4 separate regions of the Homo sapiens genome follow, and regions 2, 3 and 4 are each linked to region 1. Evidence: promoter capture Hi-C in human tissues and cell types (Jung and others, 2019). All regions are on one chromosome and are shown on one strand. Each heading gives the region's core, a stretch centred on a gene start or on the middle of the fragment in contact. The rest is flanking DNA. Distances are from core to core; before and after follow the strand shown.

What was found. The method cuts DNA at HindIII sites, captures the fragments that hold promoters and counts their contacts. A contact is called where the count stands out against the background at its distance.
Region 2: a fragment that was not itself captured here is called in contact with the fragment with the promoter of SCN4B in region 1 in 5 of the 25 tissues and cell types used here (dorsolateral prefrontal cortex, heart right ventricle, mesenchymal stem cells and 2 more).
Region 3: a fragment that was not itself captured here is called in contact with the fragment with the promoter of SCN4B in region 1 in 1 of the 25 tissues and cell types used here (lymphoblastoid cells).
Region 4: a fragment that was not itself captured here is called in contact with the fragment with the promoter of SCN4B in region 1 in 2 of the 25 tissues and cell types used here (lymphoblastoid cells and thymus).

What each region holds. Positions count from the first base shown.
Region 1 is chr11:118,151,284-118,154,098 of GRCh38, reverse strand. SCN4B (sodium voltage-gated channel beta subunit 4) reads left to right here and starts at 1,276. Exons shown (of 5, transcript NM_174934.4): 1 at 1,276-1,486. The coding sequence starts at 1,426. RefSeq lists an enhancer at 158-658. The HindIII fragment of the contact is 20,039 bases long and covers 1-2,815 here.
Region 2 is chr11:118,382,231-118,384,930 of GRCh38, reverse strand. UBE4A (ubiquitination factor E4A) reads right to left here. Exons shown (of 20, transcript NM_001204077.2): 13 at 2,155-2,342; 14 at 196-296; 15 at 1-99. The region is part of intron 3 of LOC100131626 (a long non-coding RNA gene); the gene reads left to right. Among named protein-coding and RNA genes, the nearest start is that of ATP5MG, 18 kb to the left of the region's middle. The HindIII fragment of the contact is 4,714 bases long and covers 1-2,700 here.
Region 3 is chr11:118,309,036-118,311,891 of GRCh38, reverse strand. The region is part of intron 4 of CD3E (CD3 epsilon subunit of T-cell receptor complex); the gene reads right to left. Among named protein-coding and RNA genes, the nearest start is that of CD3E, 5.7 kb to the right of the region's middle. The HindIII fragment of the contact is 5,427 bases long and covers 1-2,856 here.
Region 4 is chr11:117,940,561-117,943,327 of GRCh38, reverse strand. No RefSeq gene overlaps it. Among named protein-coding and RNA genes, the nearest start is that of TMPRSS13, 13 kb to the right of the region's middle. The HindIII fragment of the contact is 6,208 bases long and covers 1-2,767 here.

The DNA of each region.
Region 1 (2,815 bases), core at 27-2,526:
AGTCCACCCAGAGACCCCTCGTTAAGAAGGCGGTGCGTTGGTGTGCCTGCAGCAGAAGTCAGACCATGAAGTGGGAGCGGGCTTCCCAGTCCGGACCAGTCCTAGACAGTAAAGAGGGCCTGTGATGCAGGGAGGGTCTTGGATGGTTGGAAAGGTGCTGAGGAGGAGATCGACTCATTTACAGAACCACCAGCCCAAGTAGCACCGCTCAGGTGAAACTCTTTCACTTGGGCCTGTCTGGGAAAAGGCTTACTCGTTCACAGCCTCGCCTCAGCCCTCTGACCTGGTTGTCACCCTGGACTCCTCCACCCCTACCCCAAAAGGGAGGCCGAGGGAGTCTGCCGTTCCGAAGAAAACAGGAGAGTTGGAGGAGGGCGAAAAGGCAGCATCTGAGGGGGACGGCCTAGGTAGGAAAAATGAGAAGCAGGGGTGCAGCGGGAGGGTGAAATGGGGCGCAGGACACAGACCAGGCGCGGACCAACCTGCTCCCTAACCTGGAGCGTGGTGATTTCCAAGGGGTCCATGGAGAAATGTGGGGCGGGGTGGCGTGGGGGTGGGGGAAGGGAGGGCCGGGGCAGTTTGCAATGGGAAAGCTCTGTTCCGGGCTTCCTAAAACAACCGCCGGAGTTGCTGAGCGATGGGGCAGAAGGTGGCGGGAGCGGGTCCCGAGGCTGCACGCGCGCCATGTCGCACGCCACCGAGGAGGCGCAAGCTGCAGTGGGCAAGCCCGCACACGCCCACCCGTTGCGGCAGCGTCCGCTGCGGACTTTAAAGCGGTCCCTTGGCGGTCCTGGGAGAGGGAGCCGCTAACCTTCCCGTGTTCCCCCAAGCAAAGCAAAACAGTCTTCCAGCAACCGAAAAGCTCCACCTCTACTCCCCCCGAACTATGCTCCTAATTGGCAGCTCAGCGCATGGGATGATGCGGGTGGCTGCAGGCCGGCCCTGCAGTGCCAGCCGCAGCAGCCCAGCCCCACTGGAGAGGGAGTTGGGGGCACGGCGTGGTCCCGGGGCTCCGGGACCGCGAGGCGGGGTGCGGCAGGCAGGGTGCGCAGCGGGCGGGGGCTCCCCGGCCTACGCGGCGGCCACCGCCCCTCCTGCGGCTGGAGCGCTTCCAGAGCAGAGGCGCAGCCTCGCTCGCCGCTGCGCTCGCTCCGTCTTCCTCCCGCTCCTGCTCCGGCTCCTCCTACTCCTTCCCTCCCGCCGTTGCTCCAGCAGCCGGCTCCCAGCAGCGGGCGAGCGCGCCTCCCCCTCCGCTCCCTCCCTCCCCCTCCTCTCGCTCTCTGCCCGCTAACTTTCCCGAGCCCCGACCGGCGGCGCAGAGCTCCGGGGTAGCTTTGTGGCCGAACGCCGACCTCGGGCGGAGAGCGCGGCTGTGCCCAGTATCCCATCCCCGCGACCCCCGCGCGCTCCGGAGAGAACAGGACTATGCCCGGGGCTGGGGACGGAGGCAAAGCCCCGGCGAGATGGCTGGGCACTGGGCTTTTGGGTAAGGCAGCCCCAGCTTGGTCTCTTCTCTTGCCTCCCCCCACCCCCAAAGAAGGGGACACTCGAGAAGGAAGATGCCTTGGATGGGGTGGGCTTTGGAGTGCGGCACGGAATGAGGATGGTGGCCGCCGGCTTCCTGCCTGGTTCCTGCCTGGTTCATAGGCTGTGCTCCCTGGGGACCGTGTGCGTCCCTCTCTACCCCATCAGCCCGCCAGTCTCAGGATTAGTTTTTTTGCTGTCCTTGGCACCTTCGGCTCCAGGTATTTGGAGCTGGATCTTGGGGCTGCAGCGCGGGTCTCCAGAGTTCAGAGGTTCAGGATGCTGGAGGAGGGGGGTCCGTGCCTTGAGTGCAGGGGATACCAGGTGGGTTGCACGTGTGACTGTTGGAATGGTGGTTTCCATCCCGGCCCAGAGCCGTTTGCTTGTTTCCCAGGCACCAGGCATGCACCAGTTGGGGGTGGGGGAGTCCCCTTCTTCCTGGGCCCTTTTCCTGCTTTGCTCCTCTGCCCTGTACCTCCCTCAGGAGCCACTGCCTTCCCTACAGCAGCACCTGAAAGCTGGAAGGGGCTGGAGGGGCTTGCGGGATCATTCAAGGCCCTTTAGGAACGGCCTTGTCTCTCTTCCTACAAAGAGATTCCGTAGGGAAGACCTGTTTGACCTGCTCCTGGCTCTTCATTTTTGAAGTGAATATGGAGACAGAGAAGACATGTCCAGAGGACACGGAGGAAGAAGCATTATTAATATCTATTAATATGCACATGAGAGTTTTGAGTGTCAAACTCCAAGAGATTAGGGAATGATATTTATTCATCCAGGATGTAATCTCCTCATAAATCATAGCCAGACTTTAATGTAAGCCGACTCCATCTCTGGCAACGGCATCTCTTCCTGTTTATATTGGTCAGATTTGGCTTTTGGCAGCTCCCTGCATTGGGTAAGACACACGGTGTAGGTATTTCTGCTGAAAACAGGGAGACAGAACCCTATAAGGGAAGTGGCTACTGTTTCTGCGAATGTAAACTGTGTGCAGATCTAGCAGGTTGGTGCCTGGTGGTGAAGAGGGGAGAGAGTATTTCTTGTACTTGGGATGTTTATTTACCTCTGTACCGCTAGATGGAAGACACCCTTGTTTTCTCCTGTACCTTGGCACAGATGTCATGCTGGTTTCACAGTGACCTTAATGAAGTGGGCCTTAGTGACGCCTGAGGCTCCTTTTCACAGGGTGGGCACAGCGCCATTCCATGCTACTTCCCCTCATCCCATCTCAGATCAGCCCAGGTCCCCATGGTGGCAATGGCAGGGGTAAAGGATCACTGAGGAATTCAAACTC
Region 2 (2,700 bases), core at 109-2,608, 230 kb before region 1:
CAAAAGGAAGATGGCATCATTCATTAGCAGGTTAAGAAAGCGGAGGAAAAGTGGGGGATTCATGGCTTCTAAATTCTTAGAGGCATAGTCAGCCAAATCCTGTAAGTCCCAGCCCACAAGAAAACCATTTTAGTACTGAATTACAACTCATTAGGGCTTATATAAAGCAACAGGTTTCATCAAAAACTCTCTCACCTTAATGCTCTCCCGATAGGTATCTGTCCCCCACATGTATCTTAGGATAGGATACATGGGACGGCGGTAATTAAACTTCTGTTCAAATTGATGGGGGTCTCCTGGAGTAAGGCAAGAGCGAAATATCAGCAAAGGCGGTGCCATAAGAGGAAGAGTTTATGCTTATGTGTAGCCATTTGCTTTGTAGTCATTTGCTTTTGAGTGTGTTAAGGCTACTAACAAAATCTGCCCTGGAGTTTCTAAAGGCCTAGAGTTATCGCCAAGTGTTTGCTCATTTCCTTACTGATGAAGTAAGGGGGAGACAGAGATAAAGGATACCTTACTCTGCAAGAGACAAGTACCAAGCTGTAAAATAAAAGTTAAGGGAAACAAATGTTTCCATATCCAAACATGAGTACTTCTCAGGCTTTAAATGAGGGCTCAGGGCTGGCCATTATGGCAGTGAAAGCCATGTGCAGGACGGGACACTAAGCAATTCCCACATTCTTCACAGACAATATCCCAAACTGTGTAGCCAACAGGTTCTTGATTACTCTGAAAAATCAGGTCAGGAGCTAAAAATCTGAGGCTTATACTGCTTTTGAAATACCAAAGGTATTACTAGAGCTCCACAGGCTGGGTCATAATAAAGGAAGAGTGTAGGATTTGGAGTCAAAAGACCTACGTTTTCATTCTGGCTCTGCTTAATCTAAGTCTCTTAATCTTCTTCAGCTTCCACTTCCTCAGAAATAAAACAGAAATTGTACTCCATTACAACACTTTGGTTGTATGGTCACATAACGAGATAACTGCAATGATTTATTATACAATTTCTTATGTATTATAAAGATTTACATGCATTATTTCACTTAATCATCACTTTGACCCATTTTATAGATGAGGAAACTAAGGTTGATAGGTGAGCGAATTAAAAAAAACCAGAATCCAAATATGGAAAGGCGGCCAGTAAAATGTTAAATGCCTCTTTAAATGTTAGTTGTATTTATCATTGGATGGTAGATATCCCTTTAAAAAATGGTCTTCAACAACTTCTTAACATATCTTATTTACTGATTGAGACAGGGTACTGTTTAAACAAACACAGGGGCTCAGGGTTAGATAGAGAGGGAATGTTGCCTGCTGGTTTTTTTTTTTTTTTTTTTTTTTTGAGAGGGATTTCTTGCTCTGTCATCCAGGCTGGAGTGGTGCGATCTCAGCTCACTGCCACCTCTGCCTCCCGAATTCAAGCAATTCTCGTGCCTCTGCCTCCTAAGTAGCTGGGATTACAGGCACCTGCCACCATGCCTGGGTAATTTTTGTATTTTTGTAGAGAATGGGTTTCACCATGTTGGCCAGGCTGGTCTCAAACTCAGGAGCTCAAGTGATCTGCCTACTTTGGCCTCCCAAAACGCTGGGATTACAAGCATGAGCCACTGTGCCTGTCCGCCTGCTGGTATTTTTAATCGAACCATTAGACTGTTGGAGAGTTAGATAGTCTGGTTAAGATAAAAGAATCTCTCAACCAATACACTGCCTCTTTATGCACTATTCTGTAATTTTAAGGCAGAGAAATATAAAGACCCAAATAGTCTAATTTGAGTCTGATTTGATGATGCAACATAATAAGGGTGTTGAATATGTAGATTTCTTTAGGTGACACAGACCTGATTCTACCACTTGGTAGTTTGTTATGACATGGACAAACTGATCTTTTGGGCAGTCATGTCTTCATATGTAAAACAAGAATAATTAAAAAATAAAAAATAAATAAAACAGGGATAATAGAGTGAAACTTTTCCAATGGTGACAATGGGATAATGTTAAAAAAAAAAAAAAAGCACTTATCATCAAGCCTGGCATATAGTAGGTATTCAATAAGTAATGGCTTGACATTTCTTTGATATCCAAATACGGATCAAACTATGAAACTCCACTGGTATCAGCTTCCCAGTTCTGGGCTCAGCTTCATGACTGCTTTACCTGTAAATTCGATGTCCACAAAAACCTTGATTAGAGCCTCTGCAAGTTGGGGTGCATACTGAAAGTTGCAGAACACACGTTTCCGGTGGAACACACTGGATACCAAGGGATTTGGGGTCTGATCCAGGTGGGGCATCACTGCTTCCAACACCTCTGCTAGTTTGGCCCTCAGGTGGGGATTCTTCATTCTGCAAAATGGGCAAAAAGCAAGATGAGCAGATAAGCTTAACTCCAAATTTATGACTCTGTTCTCTCCACATAAGAATCAAAATCCACCCTAAACCATATTACAGGAAAAAAAAGGATCCACTTCTGCAGTTTTAAGTTTGTCAGTTTCTTGGTGCGGCTGGGCGGGGGGTGGGGTGGTGATGCAGGGTACATCATTTAACTCTTGAGTTGACAGCTTACCAAATATGACGGTGAGCACTTAAGTTTCTATTGAATGCTTAGCCATTGTTTACTTCTCTGTAATAATGCATTATTTACTGCTTCCTATTCTCTGACAGTTTCATGTGGAATAAACTTGCCTTTTCAAGCTTTCTGAGG
Region 3 (2,856 bases), core at 87-2,586, 160 kb before region 1:
GATCTACTGAAGCTCAGAAAGCCTTAAAGTCCTAAAGCCGAAAAATTCCAGAGGTCTTCAAGCTTATCCTCTTAAATTAGCCAGAACTGTATTACAGATAGATATGAATGACAAAAGAACCAACCAAATGCAGGAAGTCATCTGTCATCCAGGTCTTAGATTTGCTTGTCAGAAGGGAGCGCTACTGGCCTTCTCAGAAATAAAGCTCTCCACACCACTGAATCACTGATTCGTGGACTTACCTATTTCTTACAATTTAAAATCCTTTCTCAGAACTGAGTCCCTCATAATAGAGAAGAAACATCTTTGTTCTTATTCCATATAATTTTCTCTCTATTTGCCTTTAAATAATGTGAAATACTCTACACGTTTTGAGGGAATGCTTCTTCCAATAAAAAGTGGCTTCACTTTACATTATATCTGAGCATAATCAGCTCTCAATTATTTTTGTTAGAGGGAGGCCTATTAGTGTGGACAACTGAAATCAACTAATAAACCACTAATGCCATTCGTAGGTCCAGCCTGTGTTTCCCACAGCAGCCATTTTTGCCCTGGGAGGTGGAGCTAGGAGTCCTTTATTATTTCCTGGAAAACTTGTGGCTGGAACACTGGGTTCTGCTACAGTCTGGACATAACAGCTGGAAGAGAGGAGAGGCAGTGCTGCTGCTGTCAGGGACAGAGCTCTGGACTCAAGAGTCAGAAGCCCTGAGTTTGAATCCTGGATCTGCCCTAGTCTGTGTGACTGAGGGCAAGTCATTTAACTTTGCTGAACCTCAACTTCTTTATCAGGGAAATGGAGATAAAACACCAACCTCACAAAGTTTTTGCGAAAATTAAATGGATTATGAAGGTGAAAGTGAATGACACATAGCAGGTGCTCAAGAAAAAGTTACTTCCTTTCCTCCTTTCCTTCTTGAGGTCCTGCTACTCCCAGAGCAGAACTAAACTCTGACCCAGTTGCTCAGGCAGCCCTCTGACAAAGACTGCACAGAATGTAAACAAAACATTCTCCAGGTTTTTCCACCTGCTTATAATTGGGAGTTGAGTATAAGGACAGTAGATAGTTTATATTATTTTAATTTATAAATAATTTTTCAACACGGATGTTTCTTAGACATGTTAAATGAACTAGAAATCATAAATAAAGTACATAGACATTATACTCTGCTGGGTGTGTTTGTTTGAAAAAAATGTAAAGAAAATTGCTCACAACTTTTATTGGCACAAATTCAGTAGCAGAGCTTAGACTTAACTCATGCTCACACAAGGGTCTAGATGTCTGTGCTTAGACAGAAATGTGCTCCACGTATGTTCATTGTGCACTATTCACAATAGCAAAGACATGGAATCAACCTAAATGCCTGTCAGTGGTAGACTGGATAAAAAAATGTGCTGCATATACACCATGGAATACTACGCAGCCATAAAAAAGAATGAGATCACGTCCTTTGCAGGAACATGGATGGGACTGGAGGCCATTATCTTTAGCAAACTAACACAGTGACAGAAAACCAAATACCACATGTTCTCATTTAGAAGTGGGAGCTAAATGATGAGAACACATGAACACAGAGGGAAATGACACACACTGGGACCTCTCAGAAGGTGGAGGGTGGGAGGAGGGAGAGGATCAGGAAAAATAACTAACAGGTACCAGGCTTAATGCCTGGGTGATGAAATAATCTATACAACAAACCCCCATGGCACAAGTTTACCTATATAACAAACCTGCACATGTACCCCTGAATTTAAAATGAAAGTTAAGTTAAAAAAAGATATGTGTGCTCACAAAGATTTTATACATATCCAGAAACAGTATTTCATAATGGTTGAGAAAATGAACTTCGGTATCATATAAATCTGCATTAAAATTTTTTTATTTTTAAATTTCTATTTATTAATTTTTTCAGAGACAGGGTCTTTCTCTGCCACAGAGGCTCGAGTACAGTGGCACAATCTTTGCTCAATGCAGCCTCAACCTTCTGAGCTCAAGCGAGCCTCCTGCCTTGGCCTCCCAAAGTGTTGGGATTATAGGCATGAACCATGGCACTTGGCCTAAATCTGCATTTATATCCCCAGGACTGGATTGTTTACTTATTTTTGTTTATTTCTGTATTTATTTGAGGCTTTGTTTCCTTAACTGTACAGTAGGGGTGTTGGAAGAATTAAATGAGGAAATTCAAGTAAAATATTTAGAGCAATGCCTAAAACATACATGCTCAGTAAACTTTAATGCTTATCATCTATAGTCAGCATGCTTTCCATGTATTAATAGCTAAAATTCACCTACTGTCTGTTTGTTTGTTTGTTTGTTTTGAGACAGAGTCTTGCTCTGTCGCCCAGGCTGGAGTGCAATGGCACAATCTCAGCTCACTCCAACCTCCGCCTCCCAGGTTCAAGCAATTCTCCTACCTCAGCCTCCTGAGTAGCTGAGATTACAGGCACCTGCCACCATGCCTGGCTAATTTTTGTATTTTTAGCAGAGATGGAGTTTCACCATGTTGGCCAGGCCGGTCTCGAACTCCTGACCTCAGGTGATCCTCCCACCTCGGCTTCTCAAAGTGCTGGGATTACAGGTGTGAGCCACCATGCCCGGCCCTCCTACTGCCTTTTATGTCAGATAATGTTCTAAGTGCCTTAAATGAATTACTCATTTGGTCCTCATAATAACCCTACAAGTTAGGTAGCACTATTATTTCCATTGTACCATGATGATGCTGTGGCACAGAAAAGTTAGGTAAATTACTCAAACACACCCAGCAAGTAGAGAGTTGAGCCAAGATTCAAACATTCTGATCTAGCTCAGTTAGACTCTTATCCTCATACTATACAGCTTTATCTCTTCTGCATAAAATA
Region 4 (2,767 bases), core at 229-2,728, 210 kb after region 1:
GGTGGCTCATTCCTGTAATCCTTAGCACTTACTAAAATGTGGATTCCTTATTAGAATCCTCATGTATTATTCACCAGAATTTGTTCCTAACTTTTCACAAGATTTGTTTGGAACCCCCAGCACCTAGCCCAGACCTTGCATATAGGAGGCTCTCAAAATTATTTGTGGAAAATTTCCCCAGAAGGTTAACAGAGTTACCATATGACCCAGCAATTCCACTCCTATGGATATCCCCAAAAGAACTGAAAATATAAGCTCATGCAAAAACTTGCACATCAGTTGATAGCACCATTATTCATGATAGCCCAAAAGGGGAAACAATTCAAACGGCTATCACCTGATGAATAGATAAATAAAATGTGGCATATCCACACAATGGAGTGTTATCCACAGTTATTCACAATACAAAGAAATGAAGTACTGATACAAGCGTCAAGTCCAAGGGAAAAATTCTGCTTCACCCTCTGAAGTTTTGTTGAAAATCACTCACATAAGGCAGATTAATAGGAGAAAAGGTACATAAATTTATTTGACCATAGTTTTAGGTGACACAGGAGCTTTCAGAATGAAGACCCAAAGATACAGGGGAAGTTGTCCATTTTTATGCTTAGGTTCAACAAAGTATAGACAGCTGTGTGGAGAAATACGATTGGACAAAAAGGGTCTGATCTAATGCTAACAGAGTGAGTATGGAAATCCAGCAAGGCTGTCCATCTAGATTTTTGTTGACCCCTTTGAGCATGTGTTCCTTCCTTCTGGGTATGAGGGTCTAATGAACTACAGTCAGGTAAGGTAGGTCACATCATGTTTTATGGCCAGTTTTTACACTGGCGGTGTGGAGTTGGGGAGAGAGATTGATACTTTTAGGTTTTATGGCTGGCTTTGGAGAAAAGGAGTTTGGGTTTCTATGACCCACCTTGGAAAAGAGGGATTCCAGTCTCAACGGCTGGCCTCGGGGGAGAATGGGACTGAGAAACAGGAGGGCAGGAGCAGGTCAGAGAAAAACTTTTGTTTCTGAGGTCTTCATTTTGAGGTGTTGTTTTCTGAGTCCCAACATAAGCCACAGCGCAGATGGACCTTGAAAATATGATGATGAATGAAAGGAGCCAGCCACAGAAGACCACACACTGCATGAGTCCACTTACAGGAAATGACCAGAATAGACACATCTACAGGCACAGAAAGTAGATTCGTGGTTGCCTTAGGGCTTGGGGGAGGGAAGCTGGGGAAGTAAGTGCTAAAGAGTAGGGTATTTCTTTTGGGAATGATGAAAATGTTCTAACGTTTATTGTGATGGTCAATCTTACACAACCCTGAATATACCAAAAACCATCTAATTGTATACTTTAAATGGGTGAACAGTATGGTATGTAAATTCTATCTCAATACAGCTGTTAAAATTTTATGGTGAAATGAATGAATGGATCTGCCCCTTCCGATAGCCTCCTGGCTCTAGAGGAGACACAGCAGGTGGCCCTTGTCCCATGAGCTGGTCTCTGGACCTAGAAATGCACAATTGACAGGTGGCAACTCATACTATTTGTGAACATGCACCCTCCCCGTCTAGGACCTCAGCTCCCTGGCCTTTGGAAGTGCTGGGAGATGGTGGGAAGGGGTCTTGGAGGGCCAGACAAGGTCCAGGCTCAGGAAGCACTTCTGGCAATGTTCTCCCAGCTCTCTGCATCTAGAACAAAGCATTCTTAGTCAGCTGGGCTCACCCCACCCGGAGTAATTACCCTCGTTAGCCCCTCTGTGTGTGTCATCTGCACACATAGGTAATTAAACTGAACGAGGGGCCGTGACTCAGCTGCTCTGCCTCACACCAGCCCTGGCCCAGTGCAGACTGGGAGAACTGGCTCTGCCAGGCACTGGGGGTGAGTGGACAGCCAGGGCACCTGGTGCTGAGCAGAGGATCAGGTGGTGGCACAGGAGGACTCTCTGGTCTTCCTTACTCCTCATCCCAAAACTGGAACCTAGAGCAAGTGGGCCCCAGGTGGGTCCAGGCAGGGCTGAAGATGGTTGGCTGGTTAAACTTGGGGTTAGCCTTGAGGCTCTGAACTCACTCCTATGCCACAGCCTGTGGTTCAGTGTTGAACCAAAGGAGCCTGGGGCAGCCTCAGACTCTGAGGCATGGGCTGAGGCCTAGGAGGACAGACCAAGCACAGGAAGTGGGTCTTTAGAATCCTGGCCTCTCAAATACCCTGCCGCAAGATGTCAGAGGGCTGCTCTGGAATCAGAAGTTTAAGGGAACAACTGCTCAGAAGAGAGGATCTCTGAAATTCCTTCCAGTTCCCATGTTCTGCGCGTCCGATTGTTAATATCCGCTGCACACTTACTCTGTGTGACGGCTCTACCCACACGATCTCATTTCATACCCACATCCCTATACGGCAGATCCTGTTCTCCTGCCTGGATTACAGAGGAGGACATGGAGGATTGAGAAGTCAATTATTTGCTCCAAGTCACAGGCCTTCCATGTAGTGGAGCCTGTATTCAAATCCAGGTCTGCCTGACTCAGAGACCAAGGTCTCAACCATCCATTGCCCATACTCCTTAAATCTATAATTCTAGAAATCCAGGCTCTCCTTCTAGTTAACTTTGAAGAATGTATGTGTGATGTAAGAACCATCTCATGAGAGTAGAGCTGTGATTAATTCAATTAGGGTTATTTTATAGGACACAGTAATTTTTCTTTGTGATGAGAAGACCACAAGAAGCAATTAAGTTATTAAGCAACTATTGTTTGGTACATAGTAGAGATTCAATA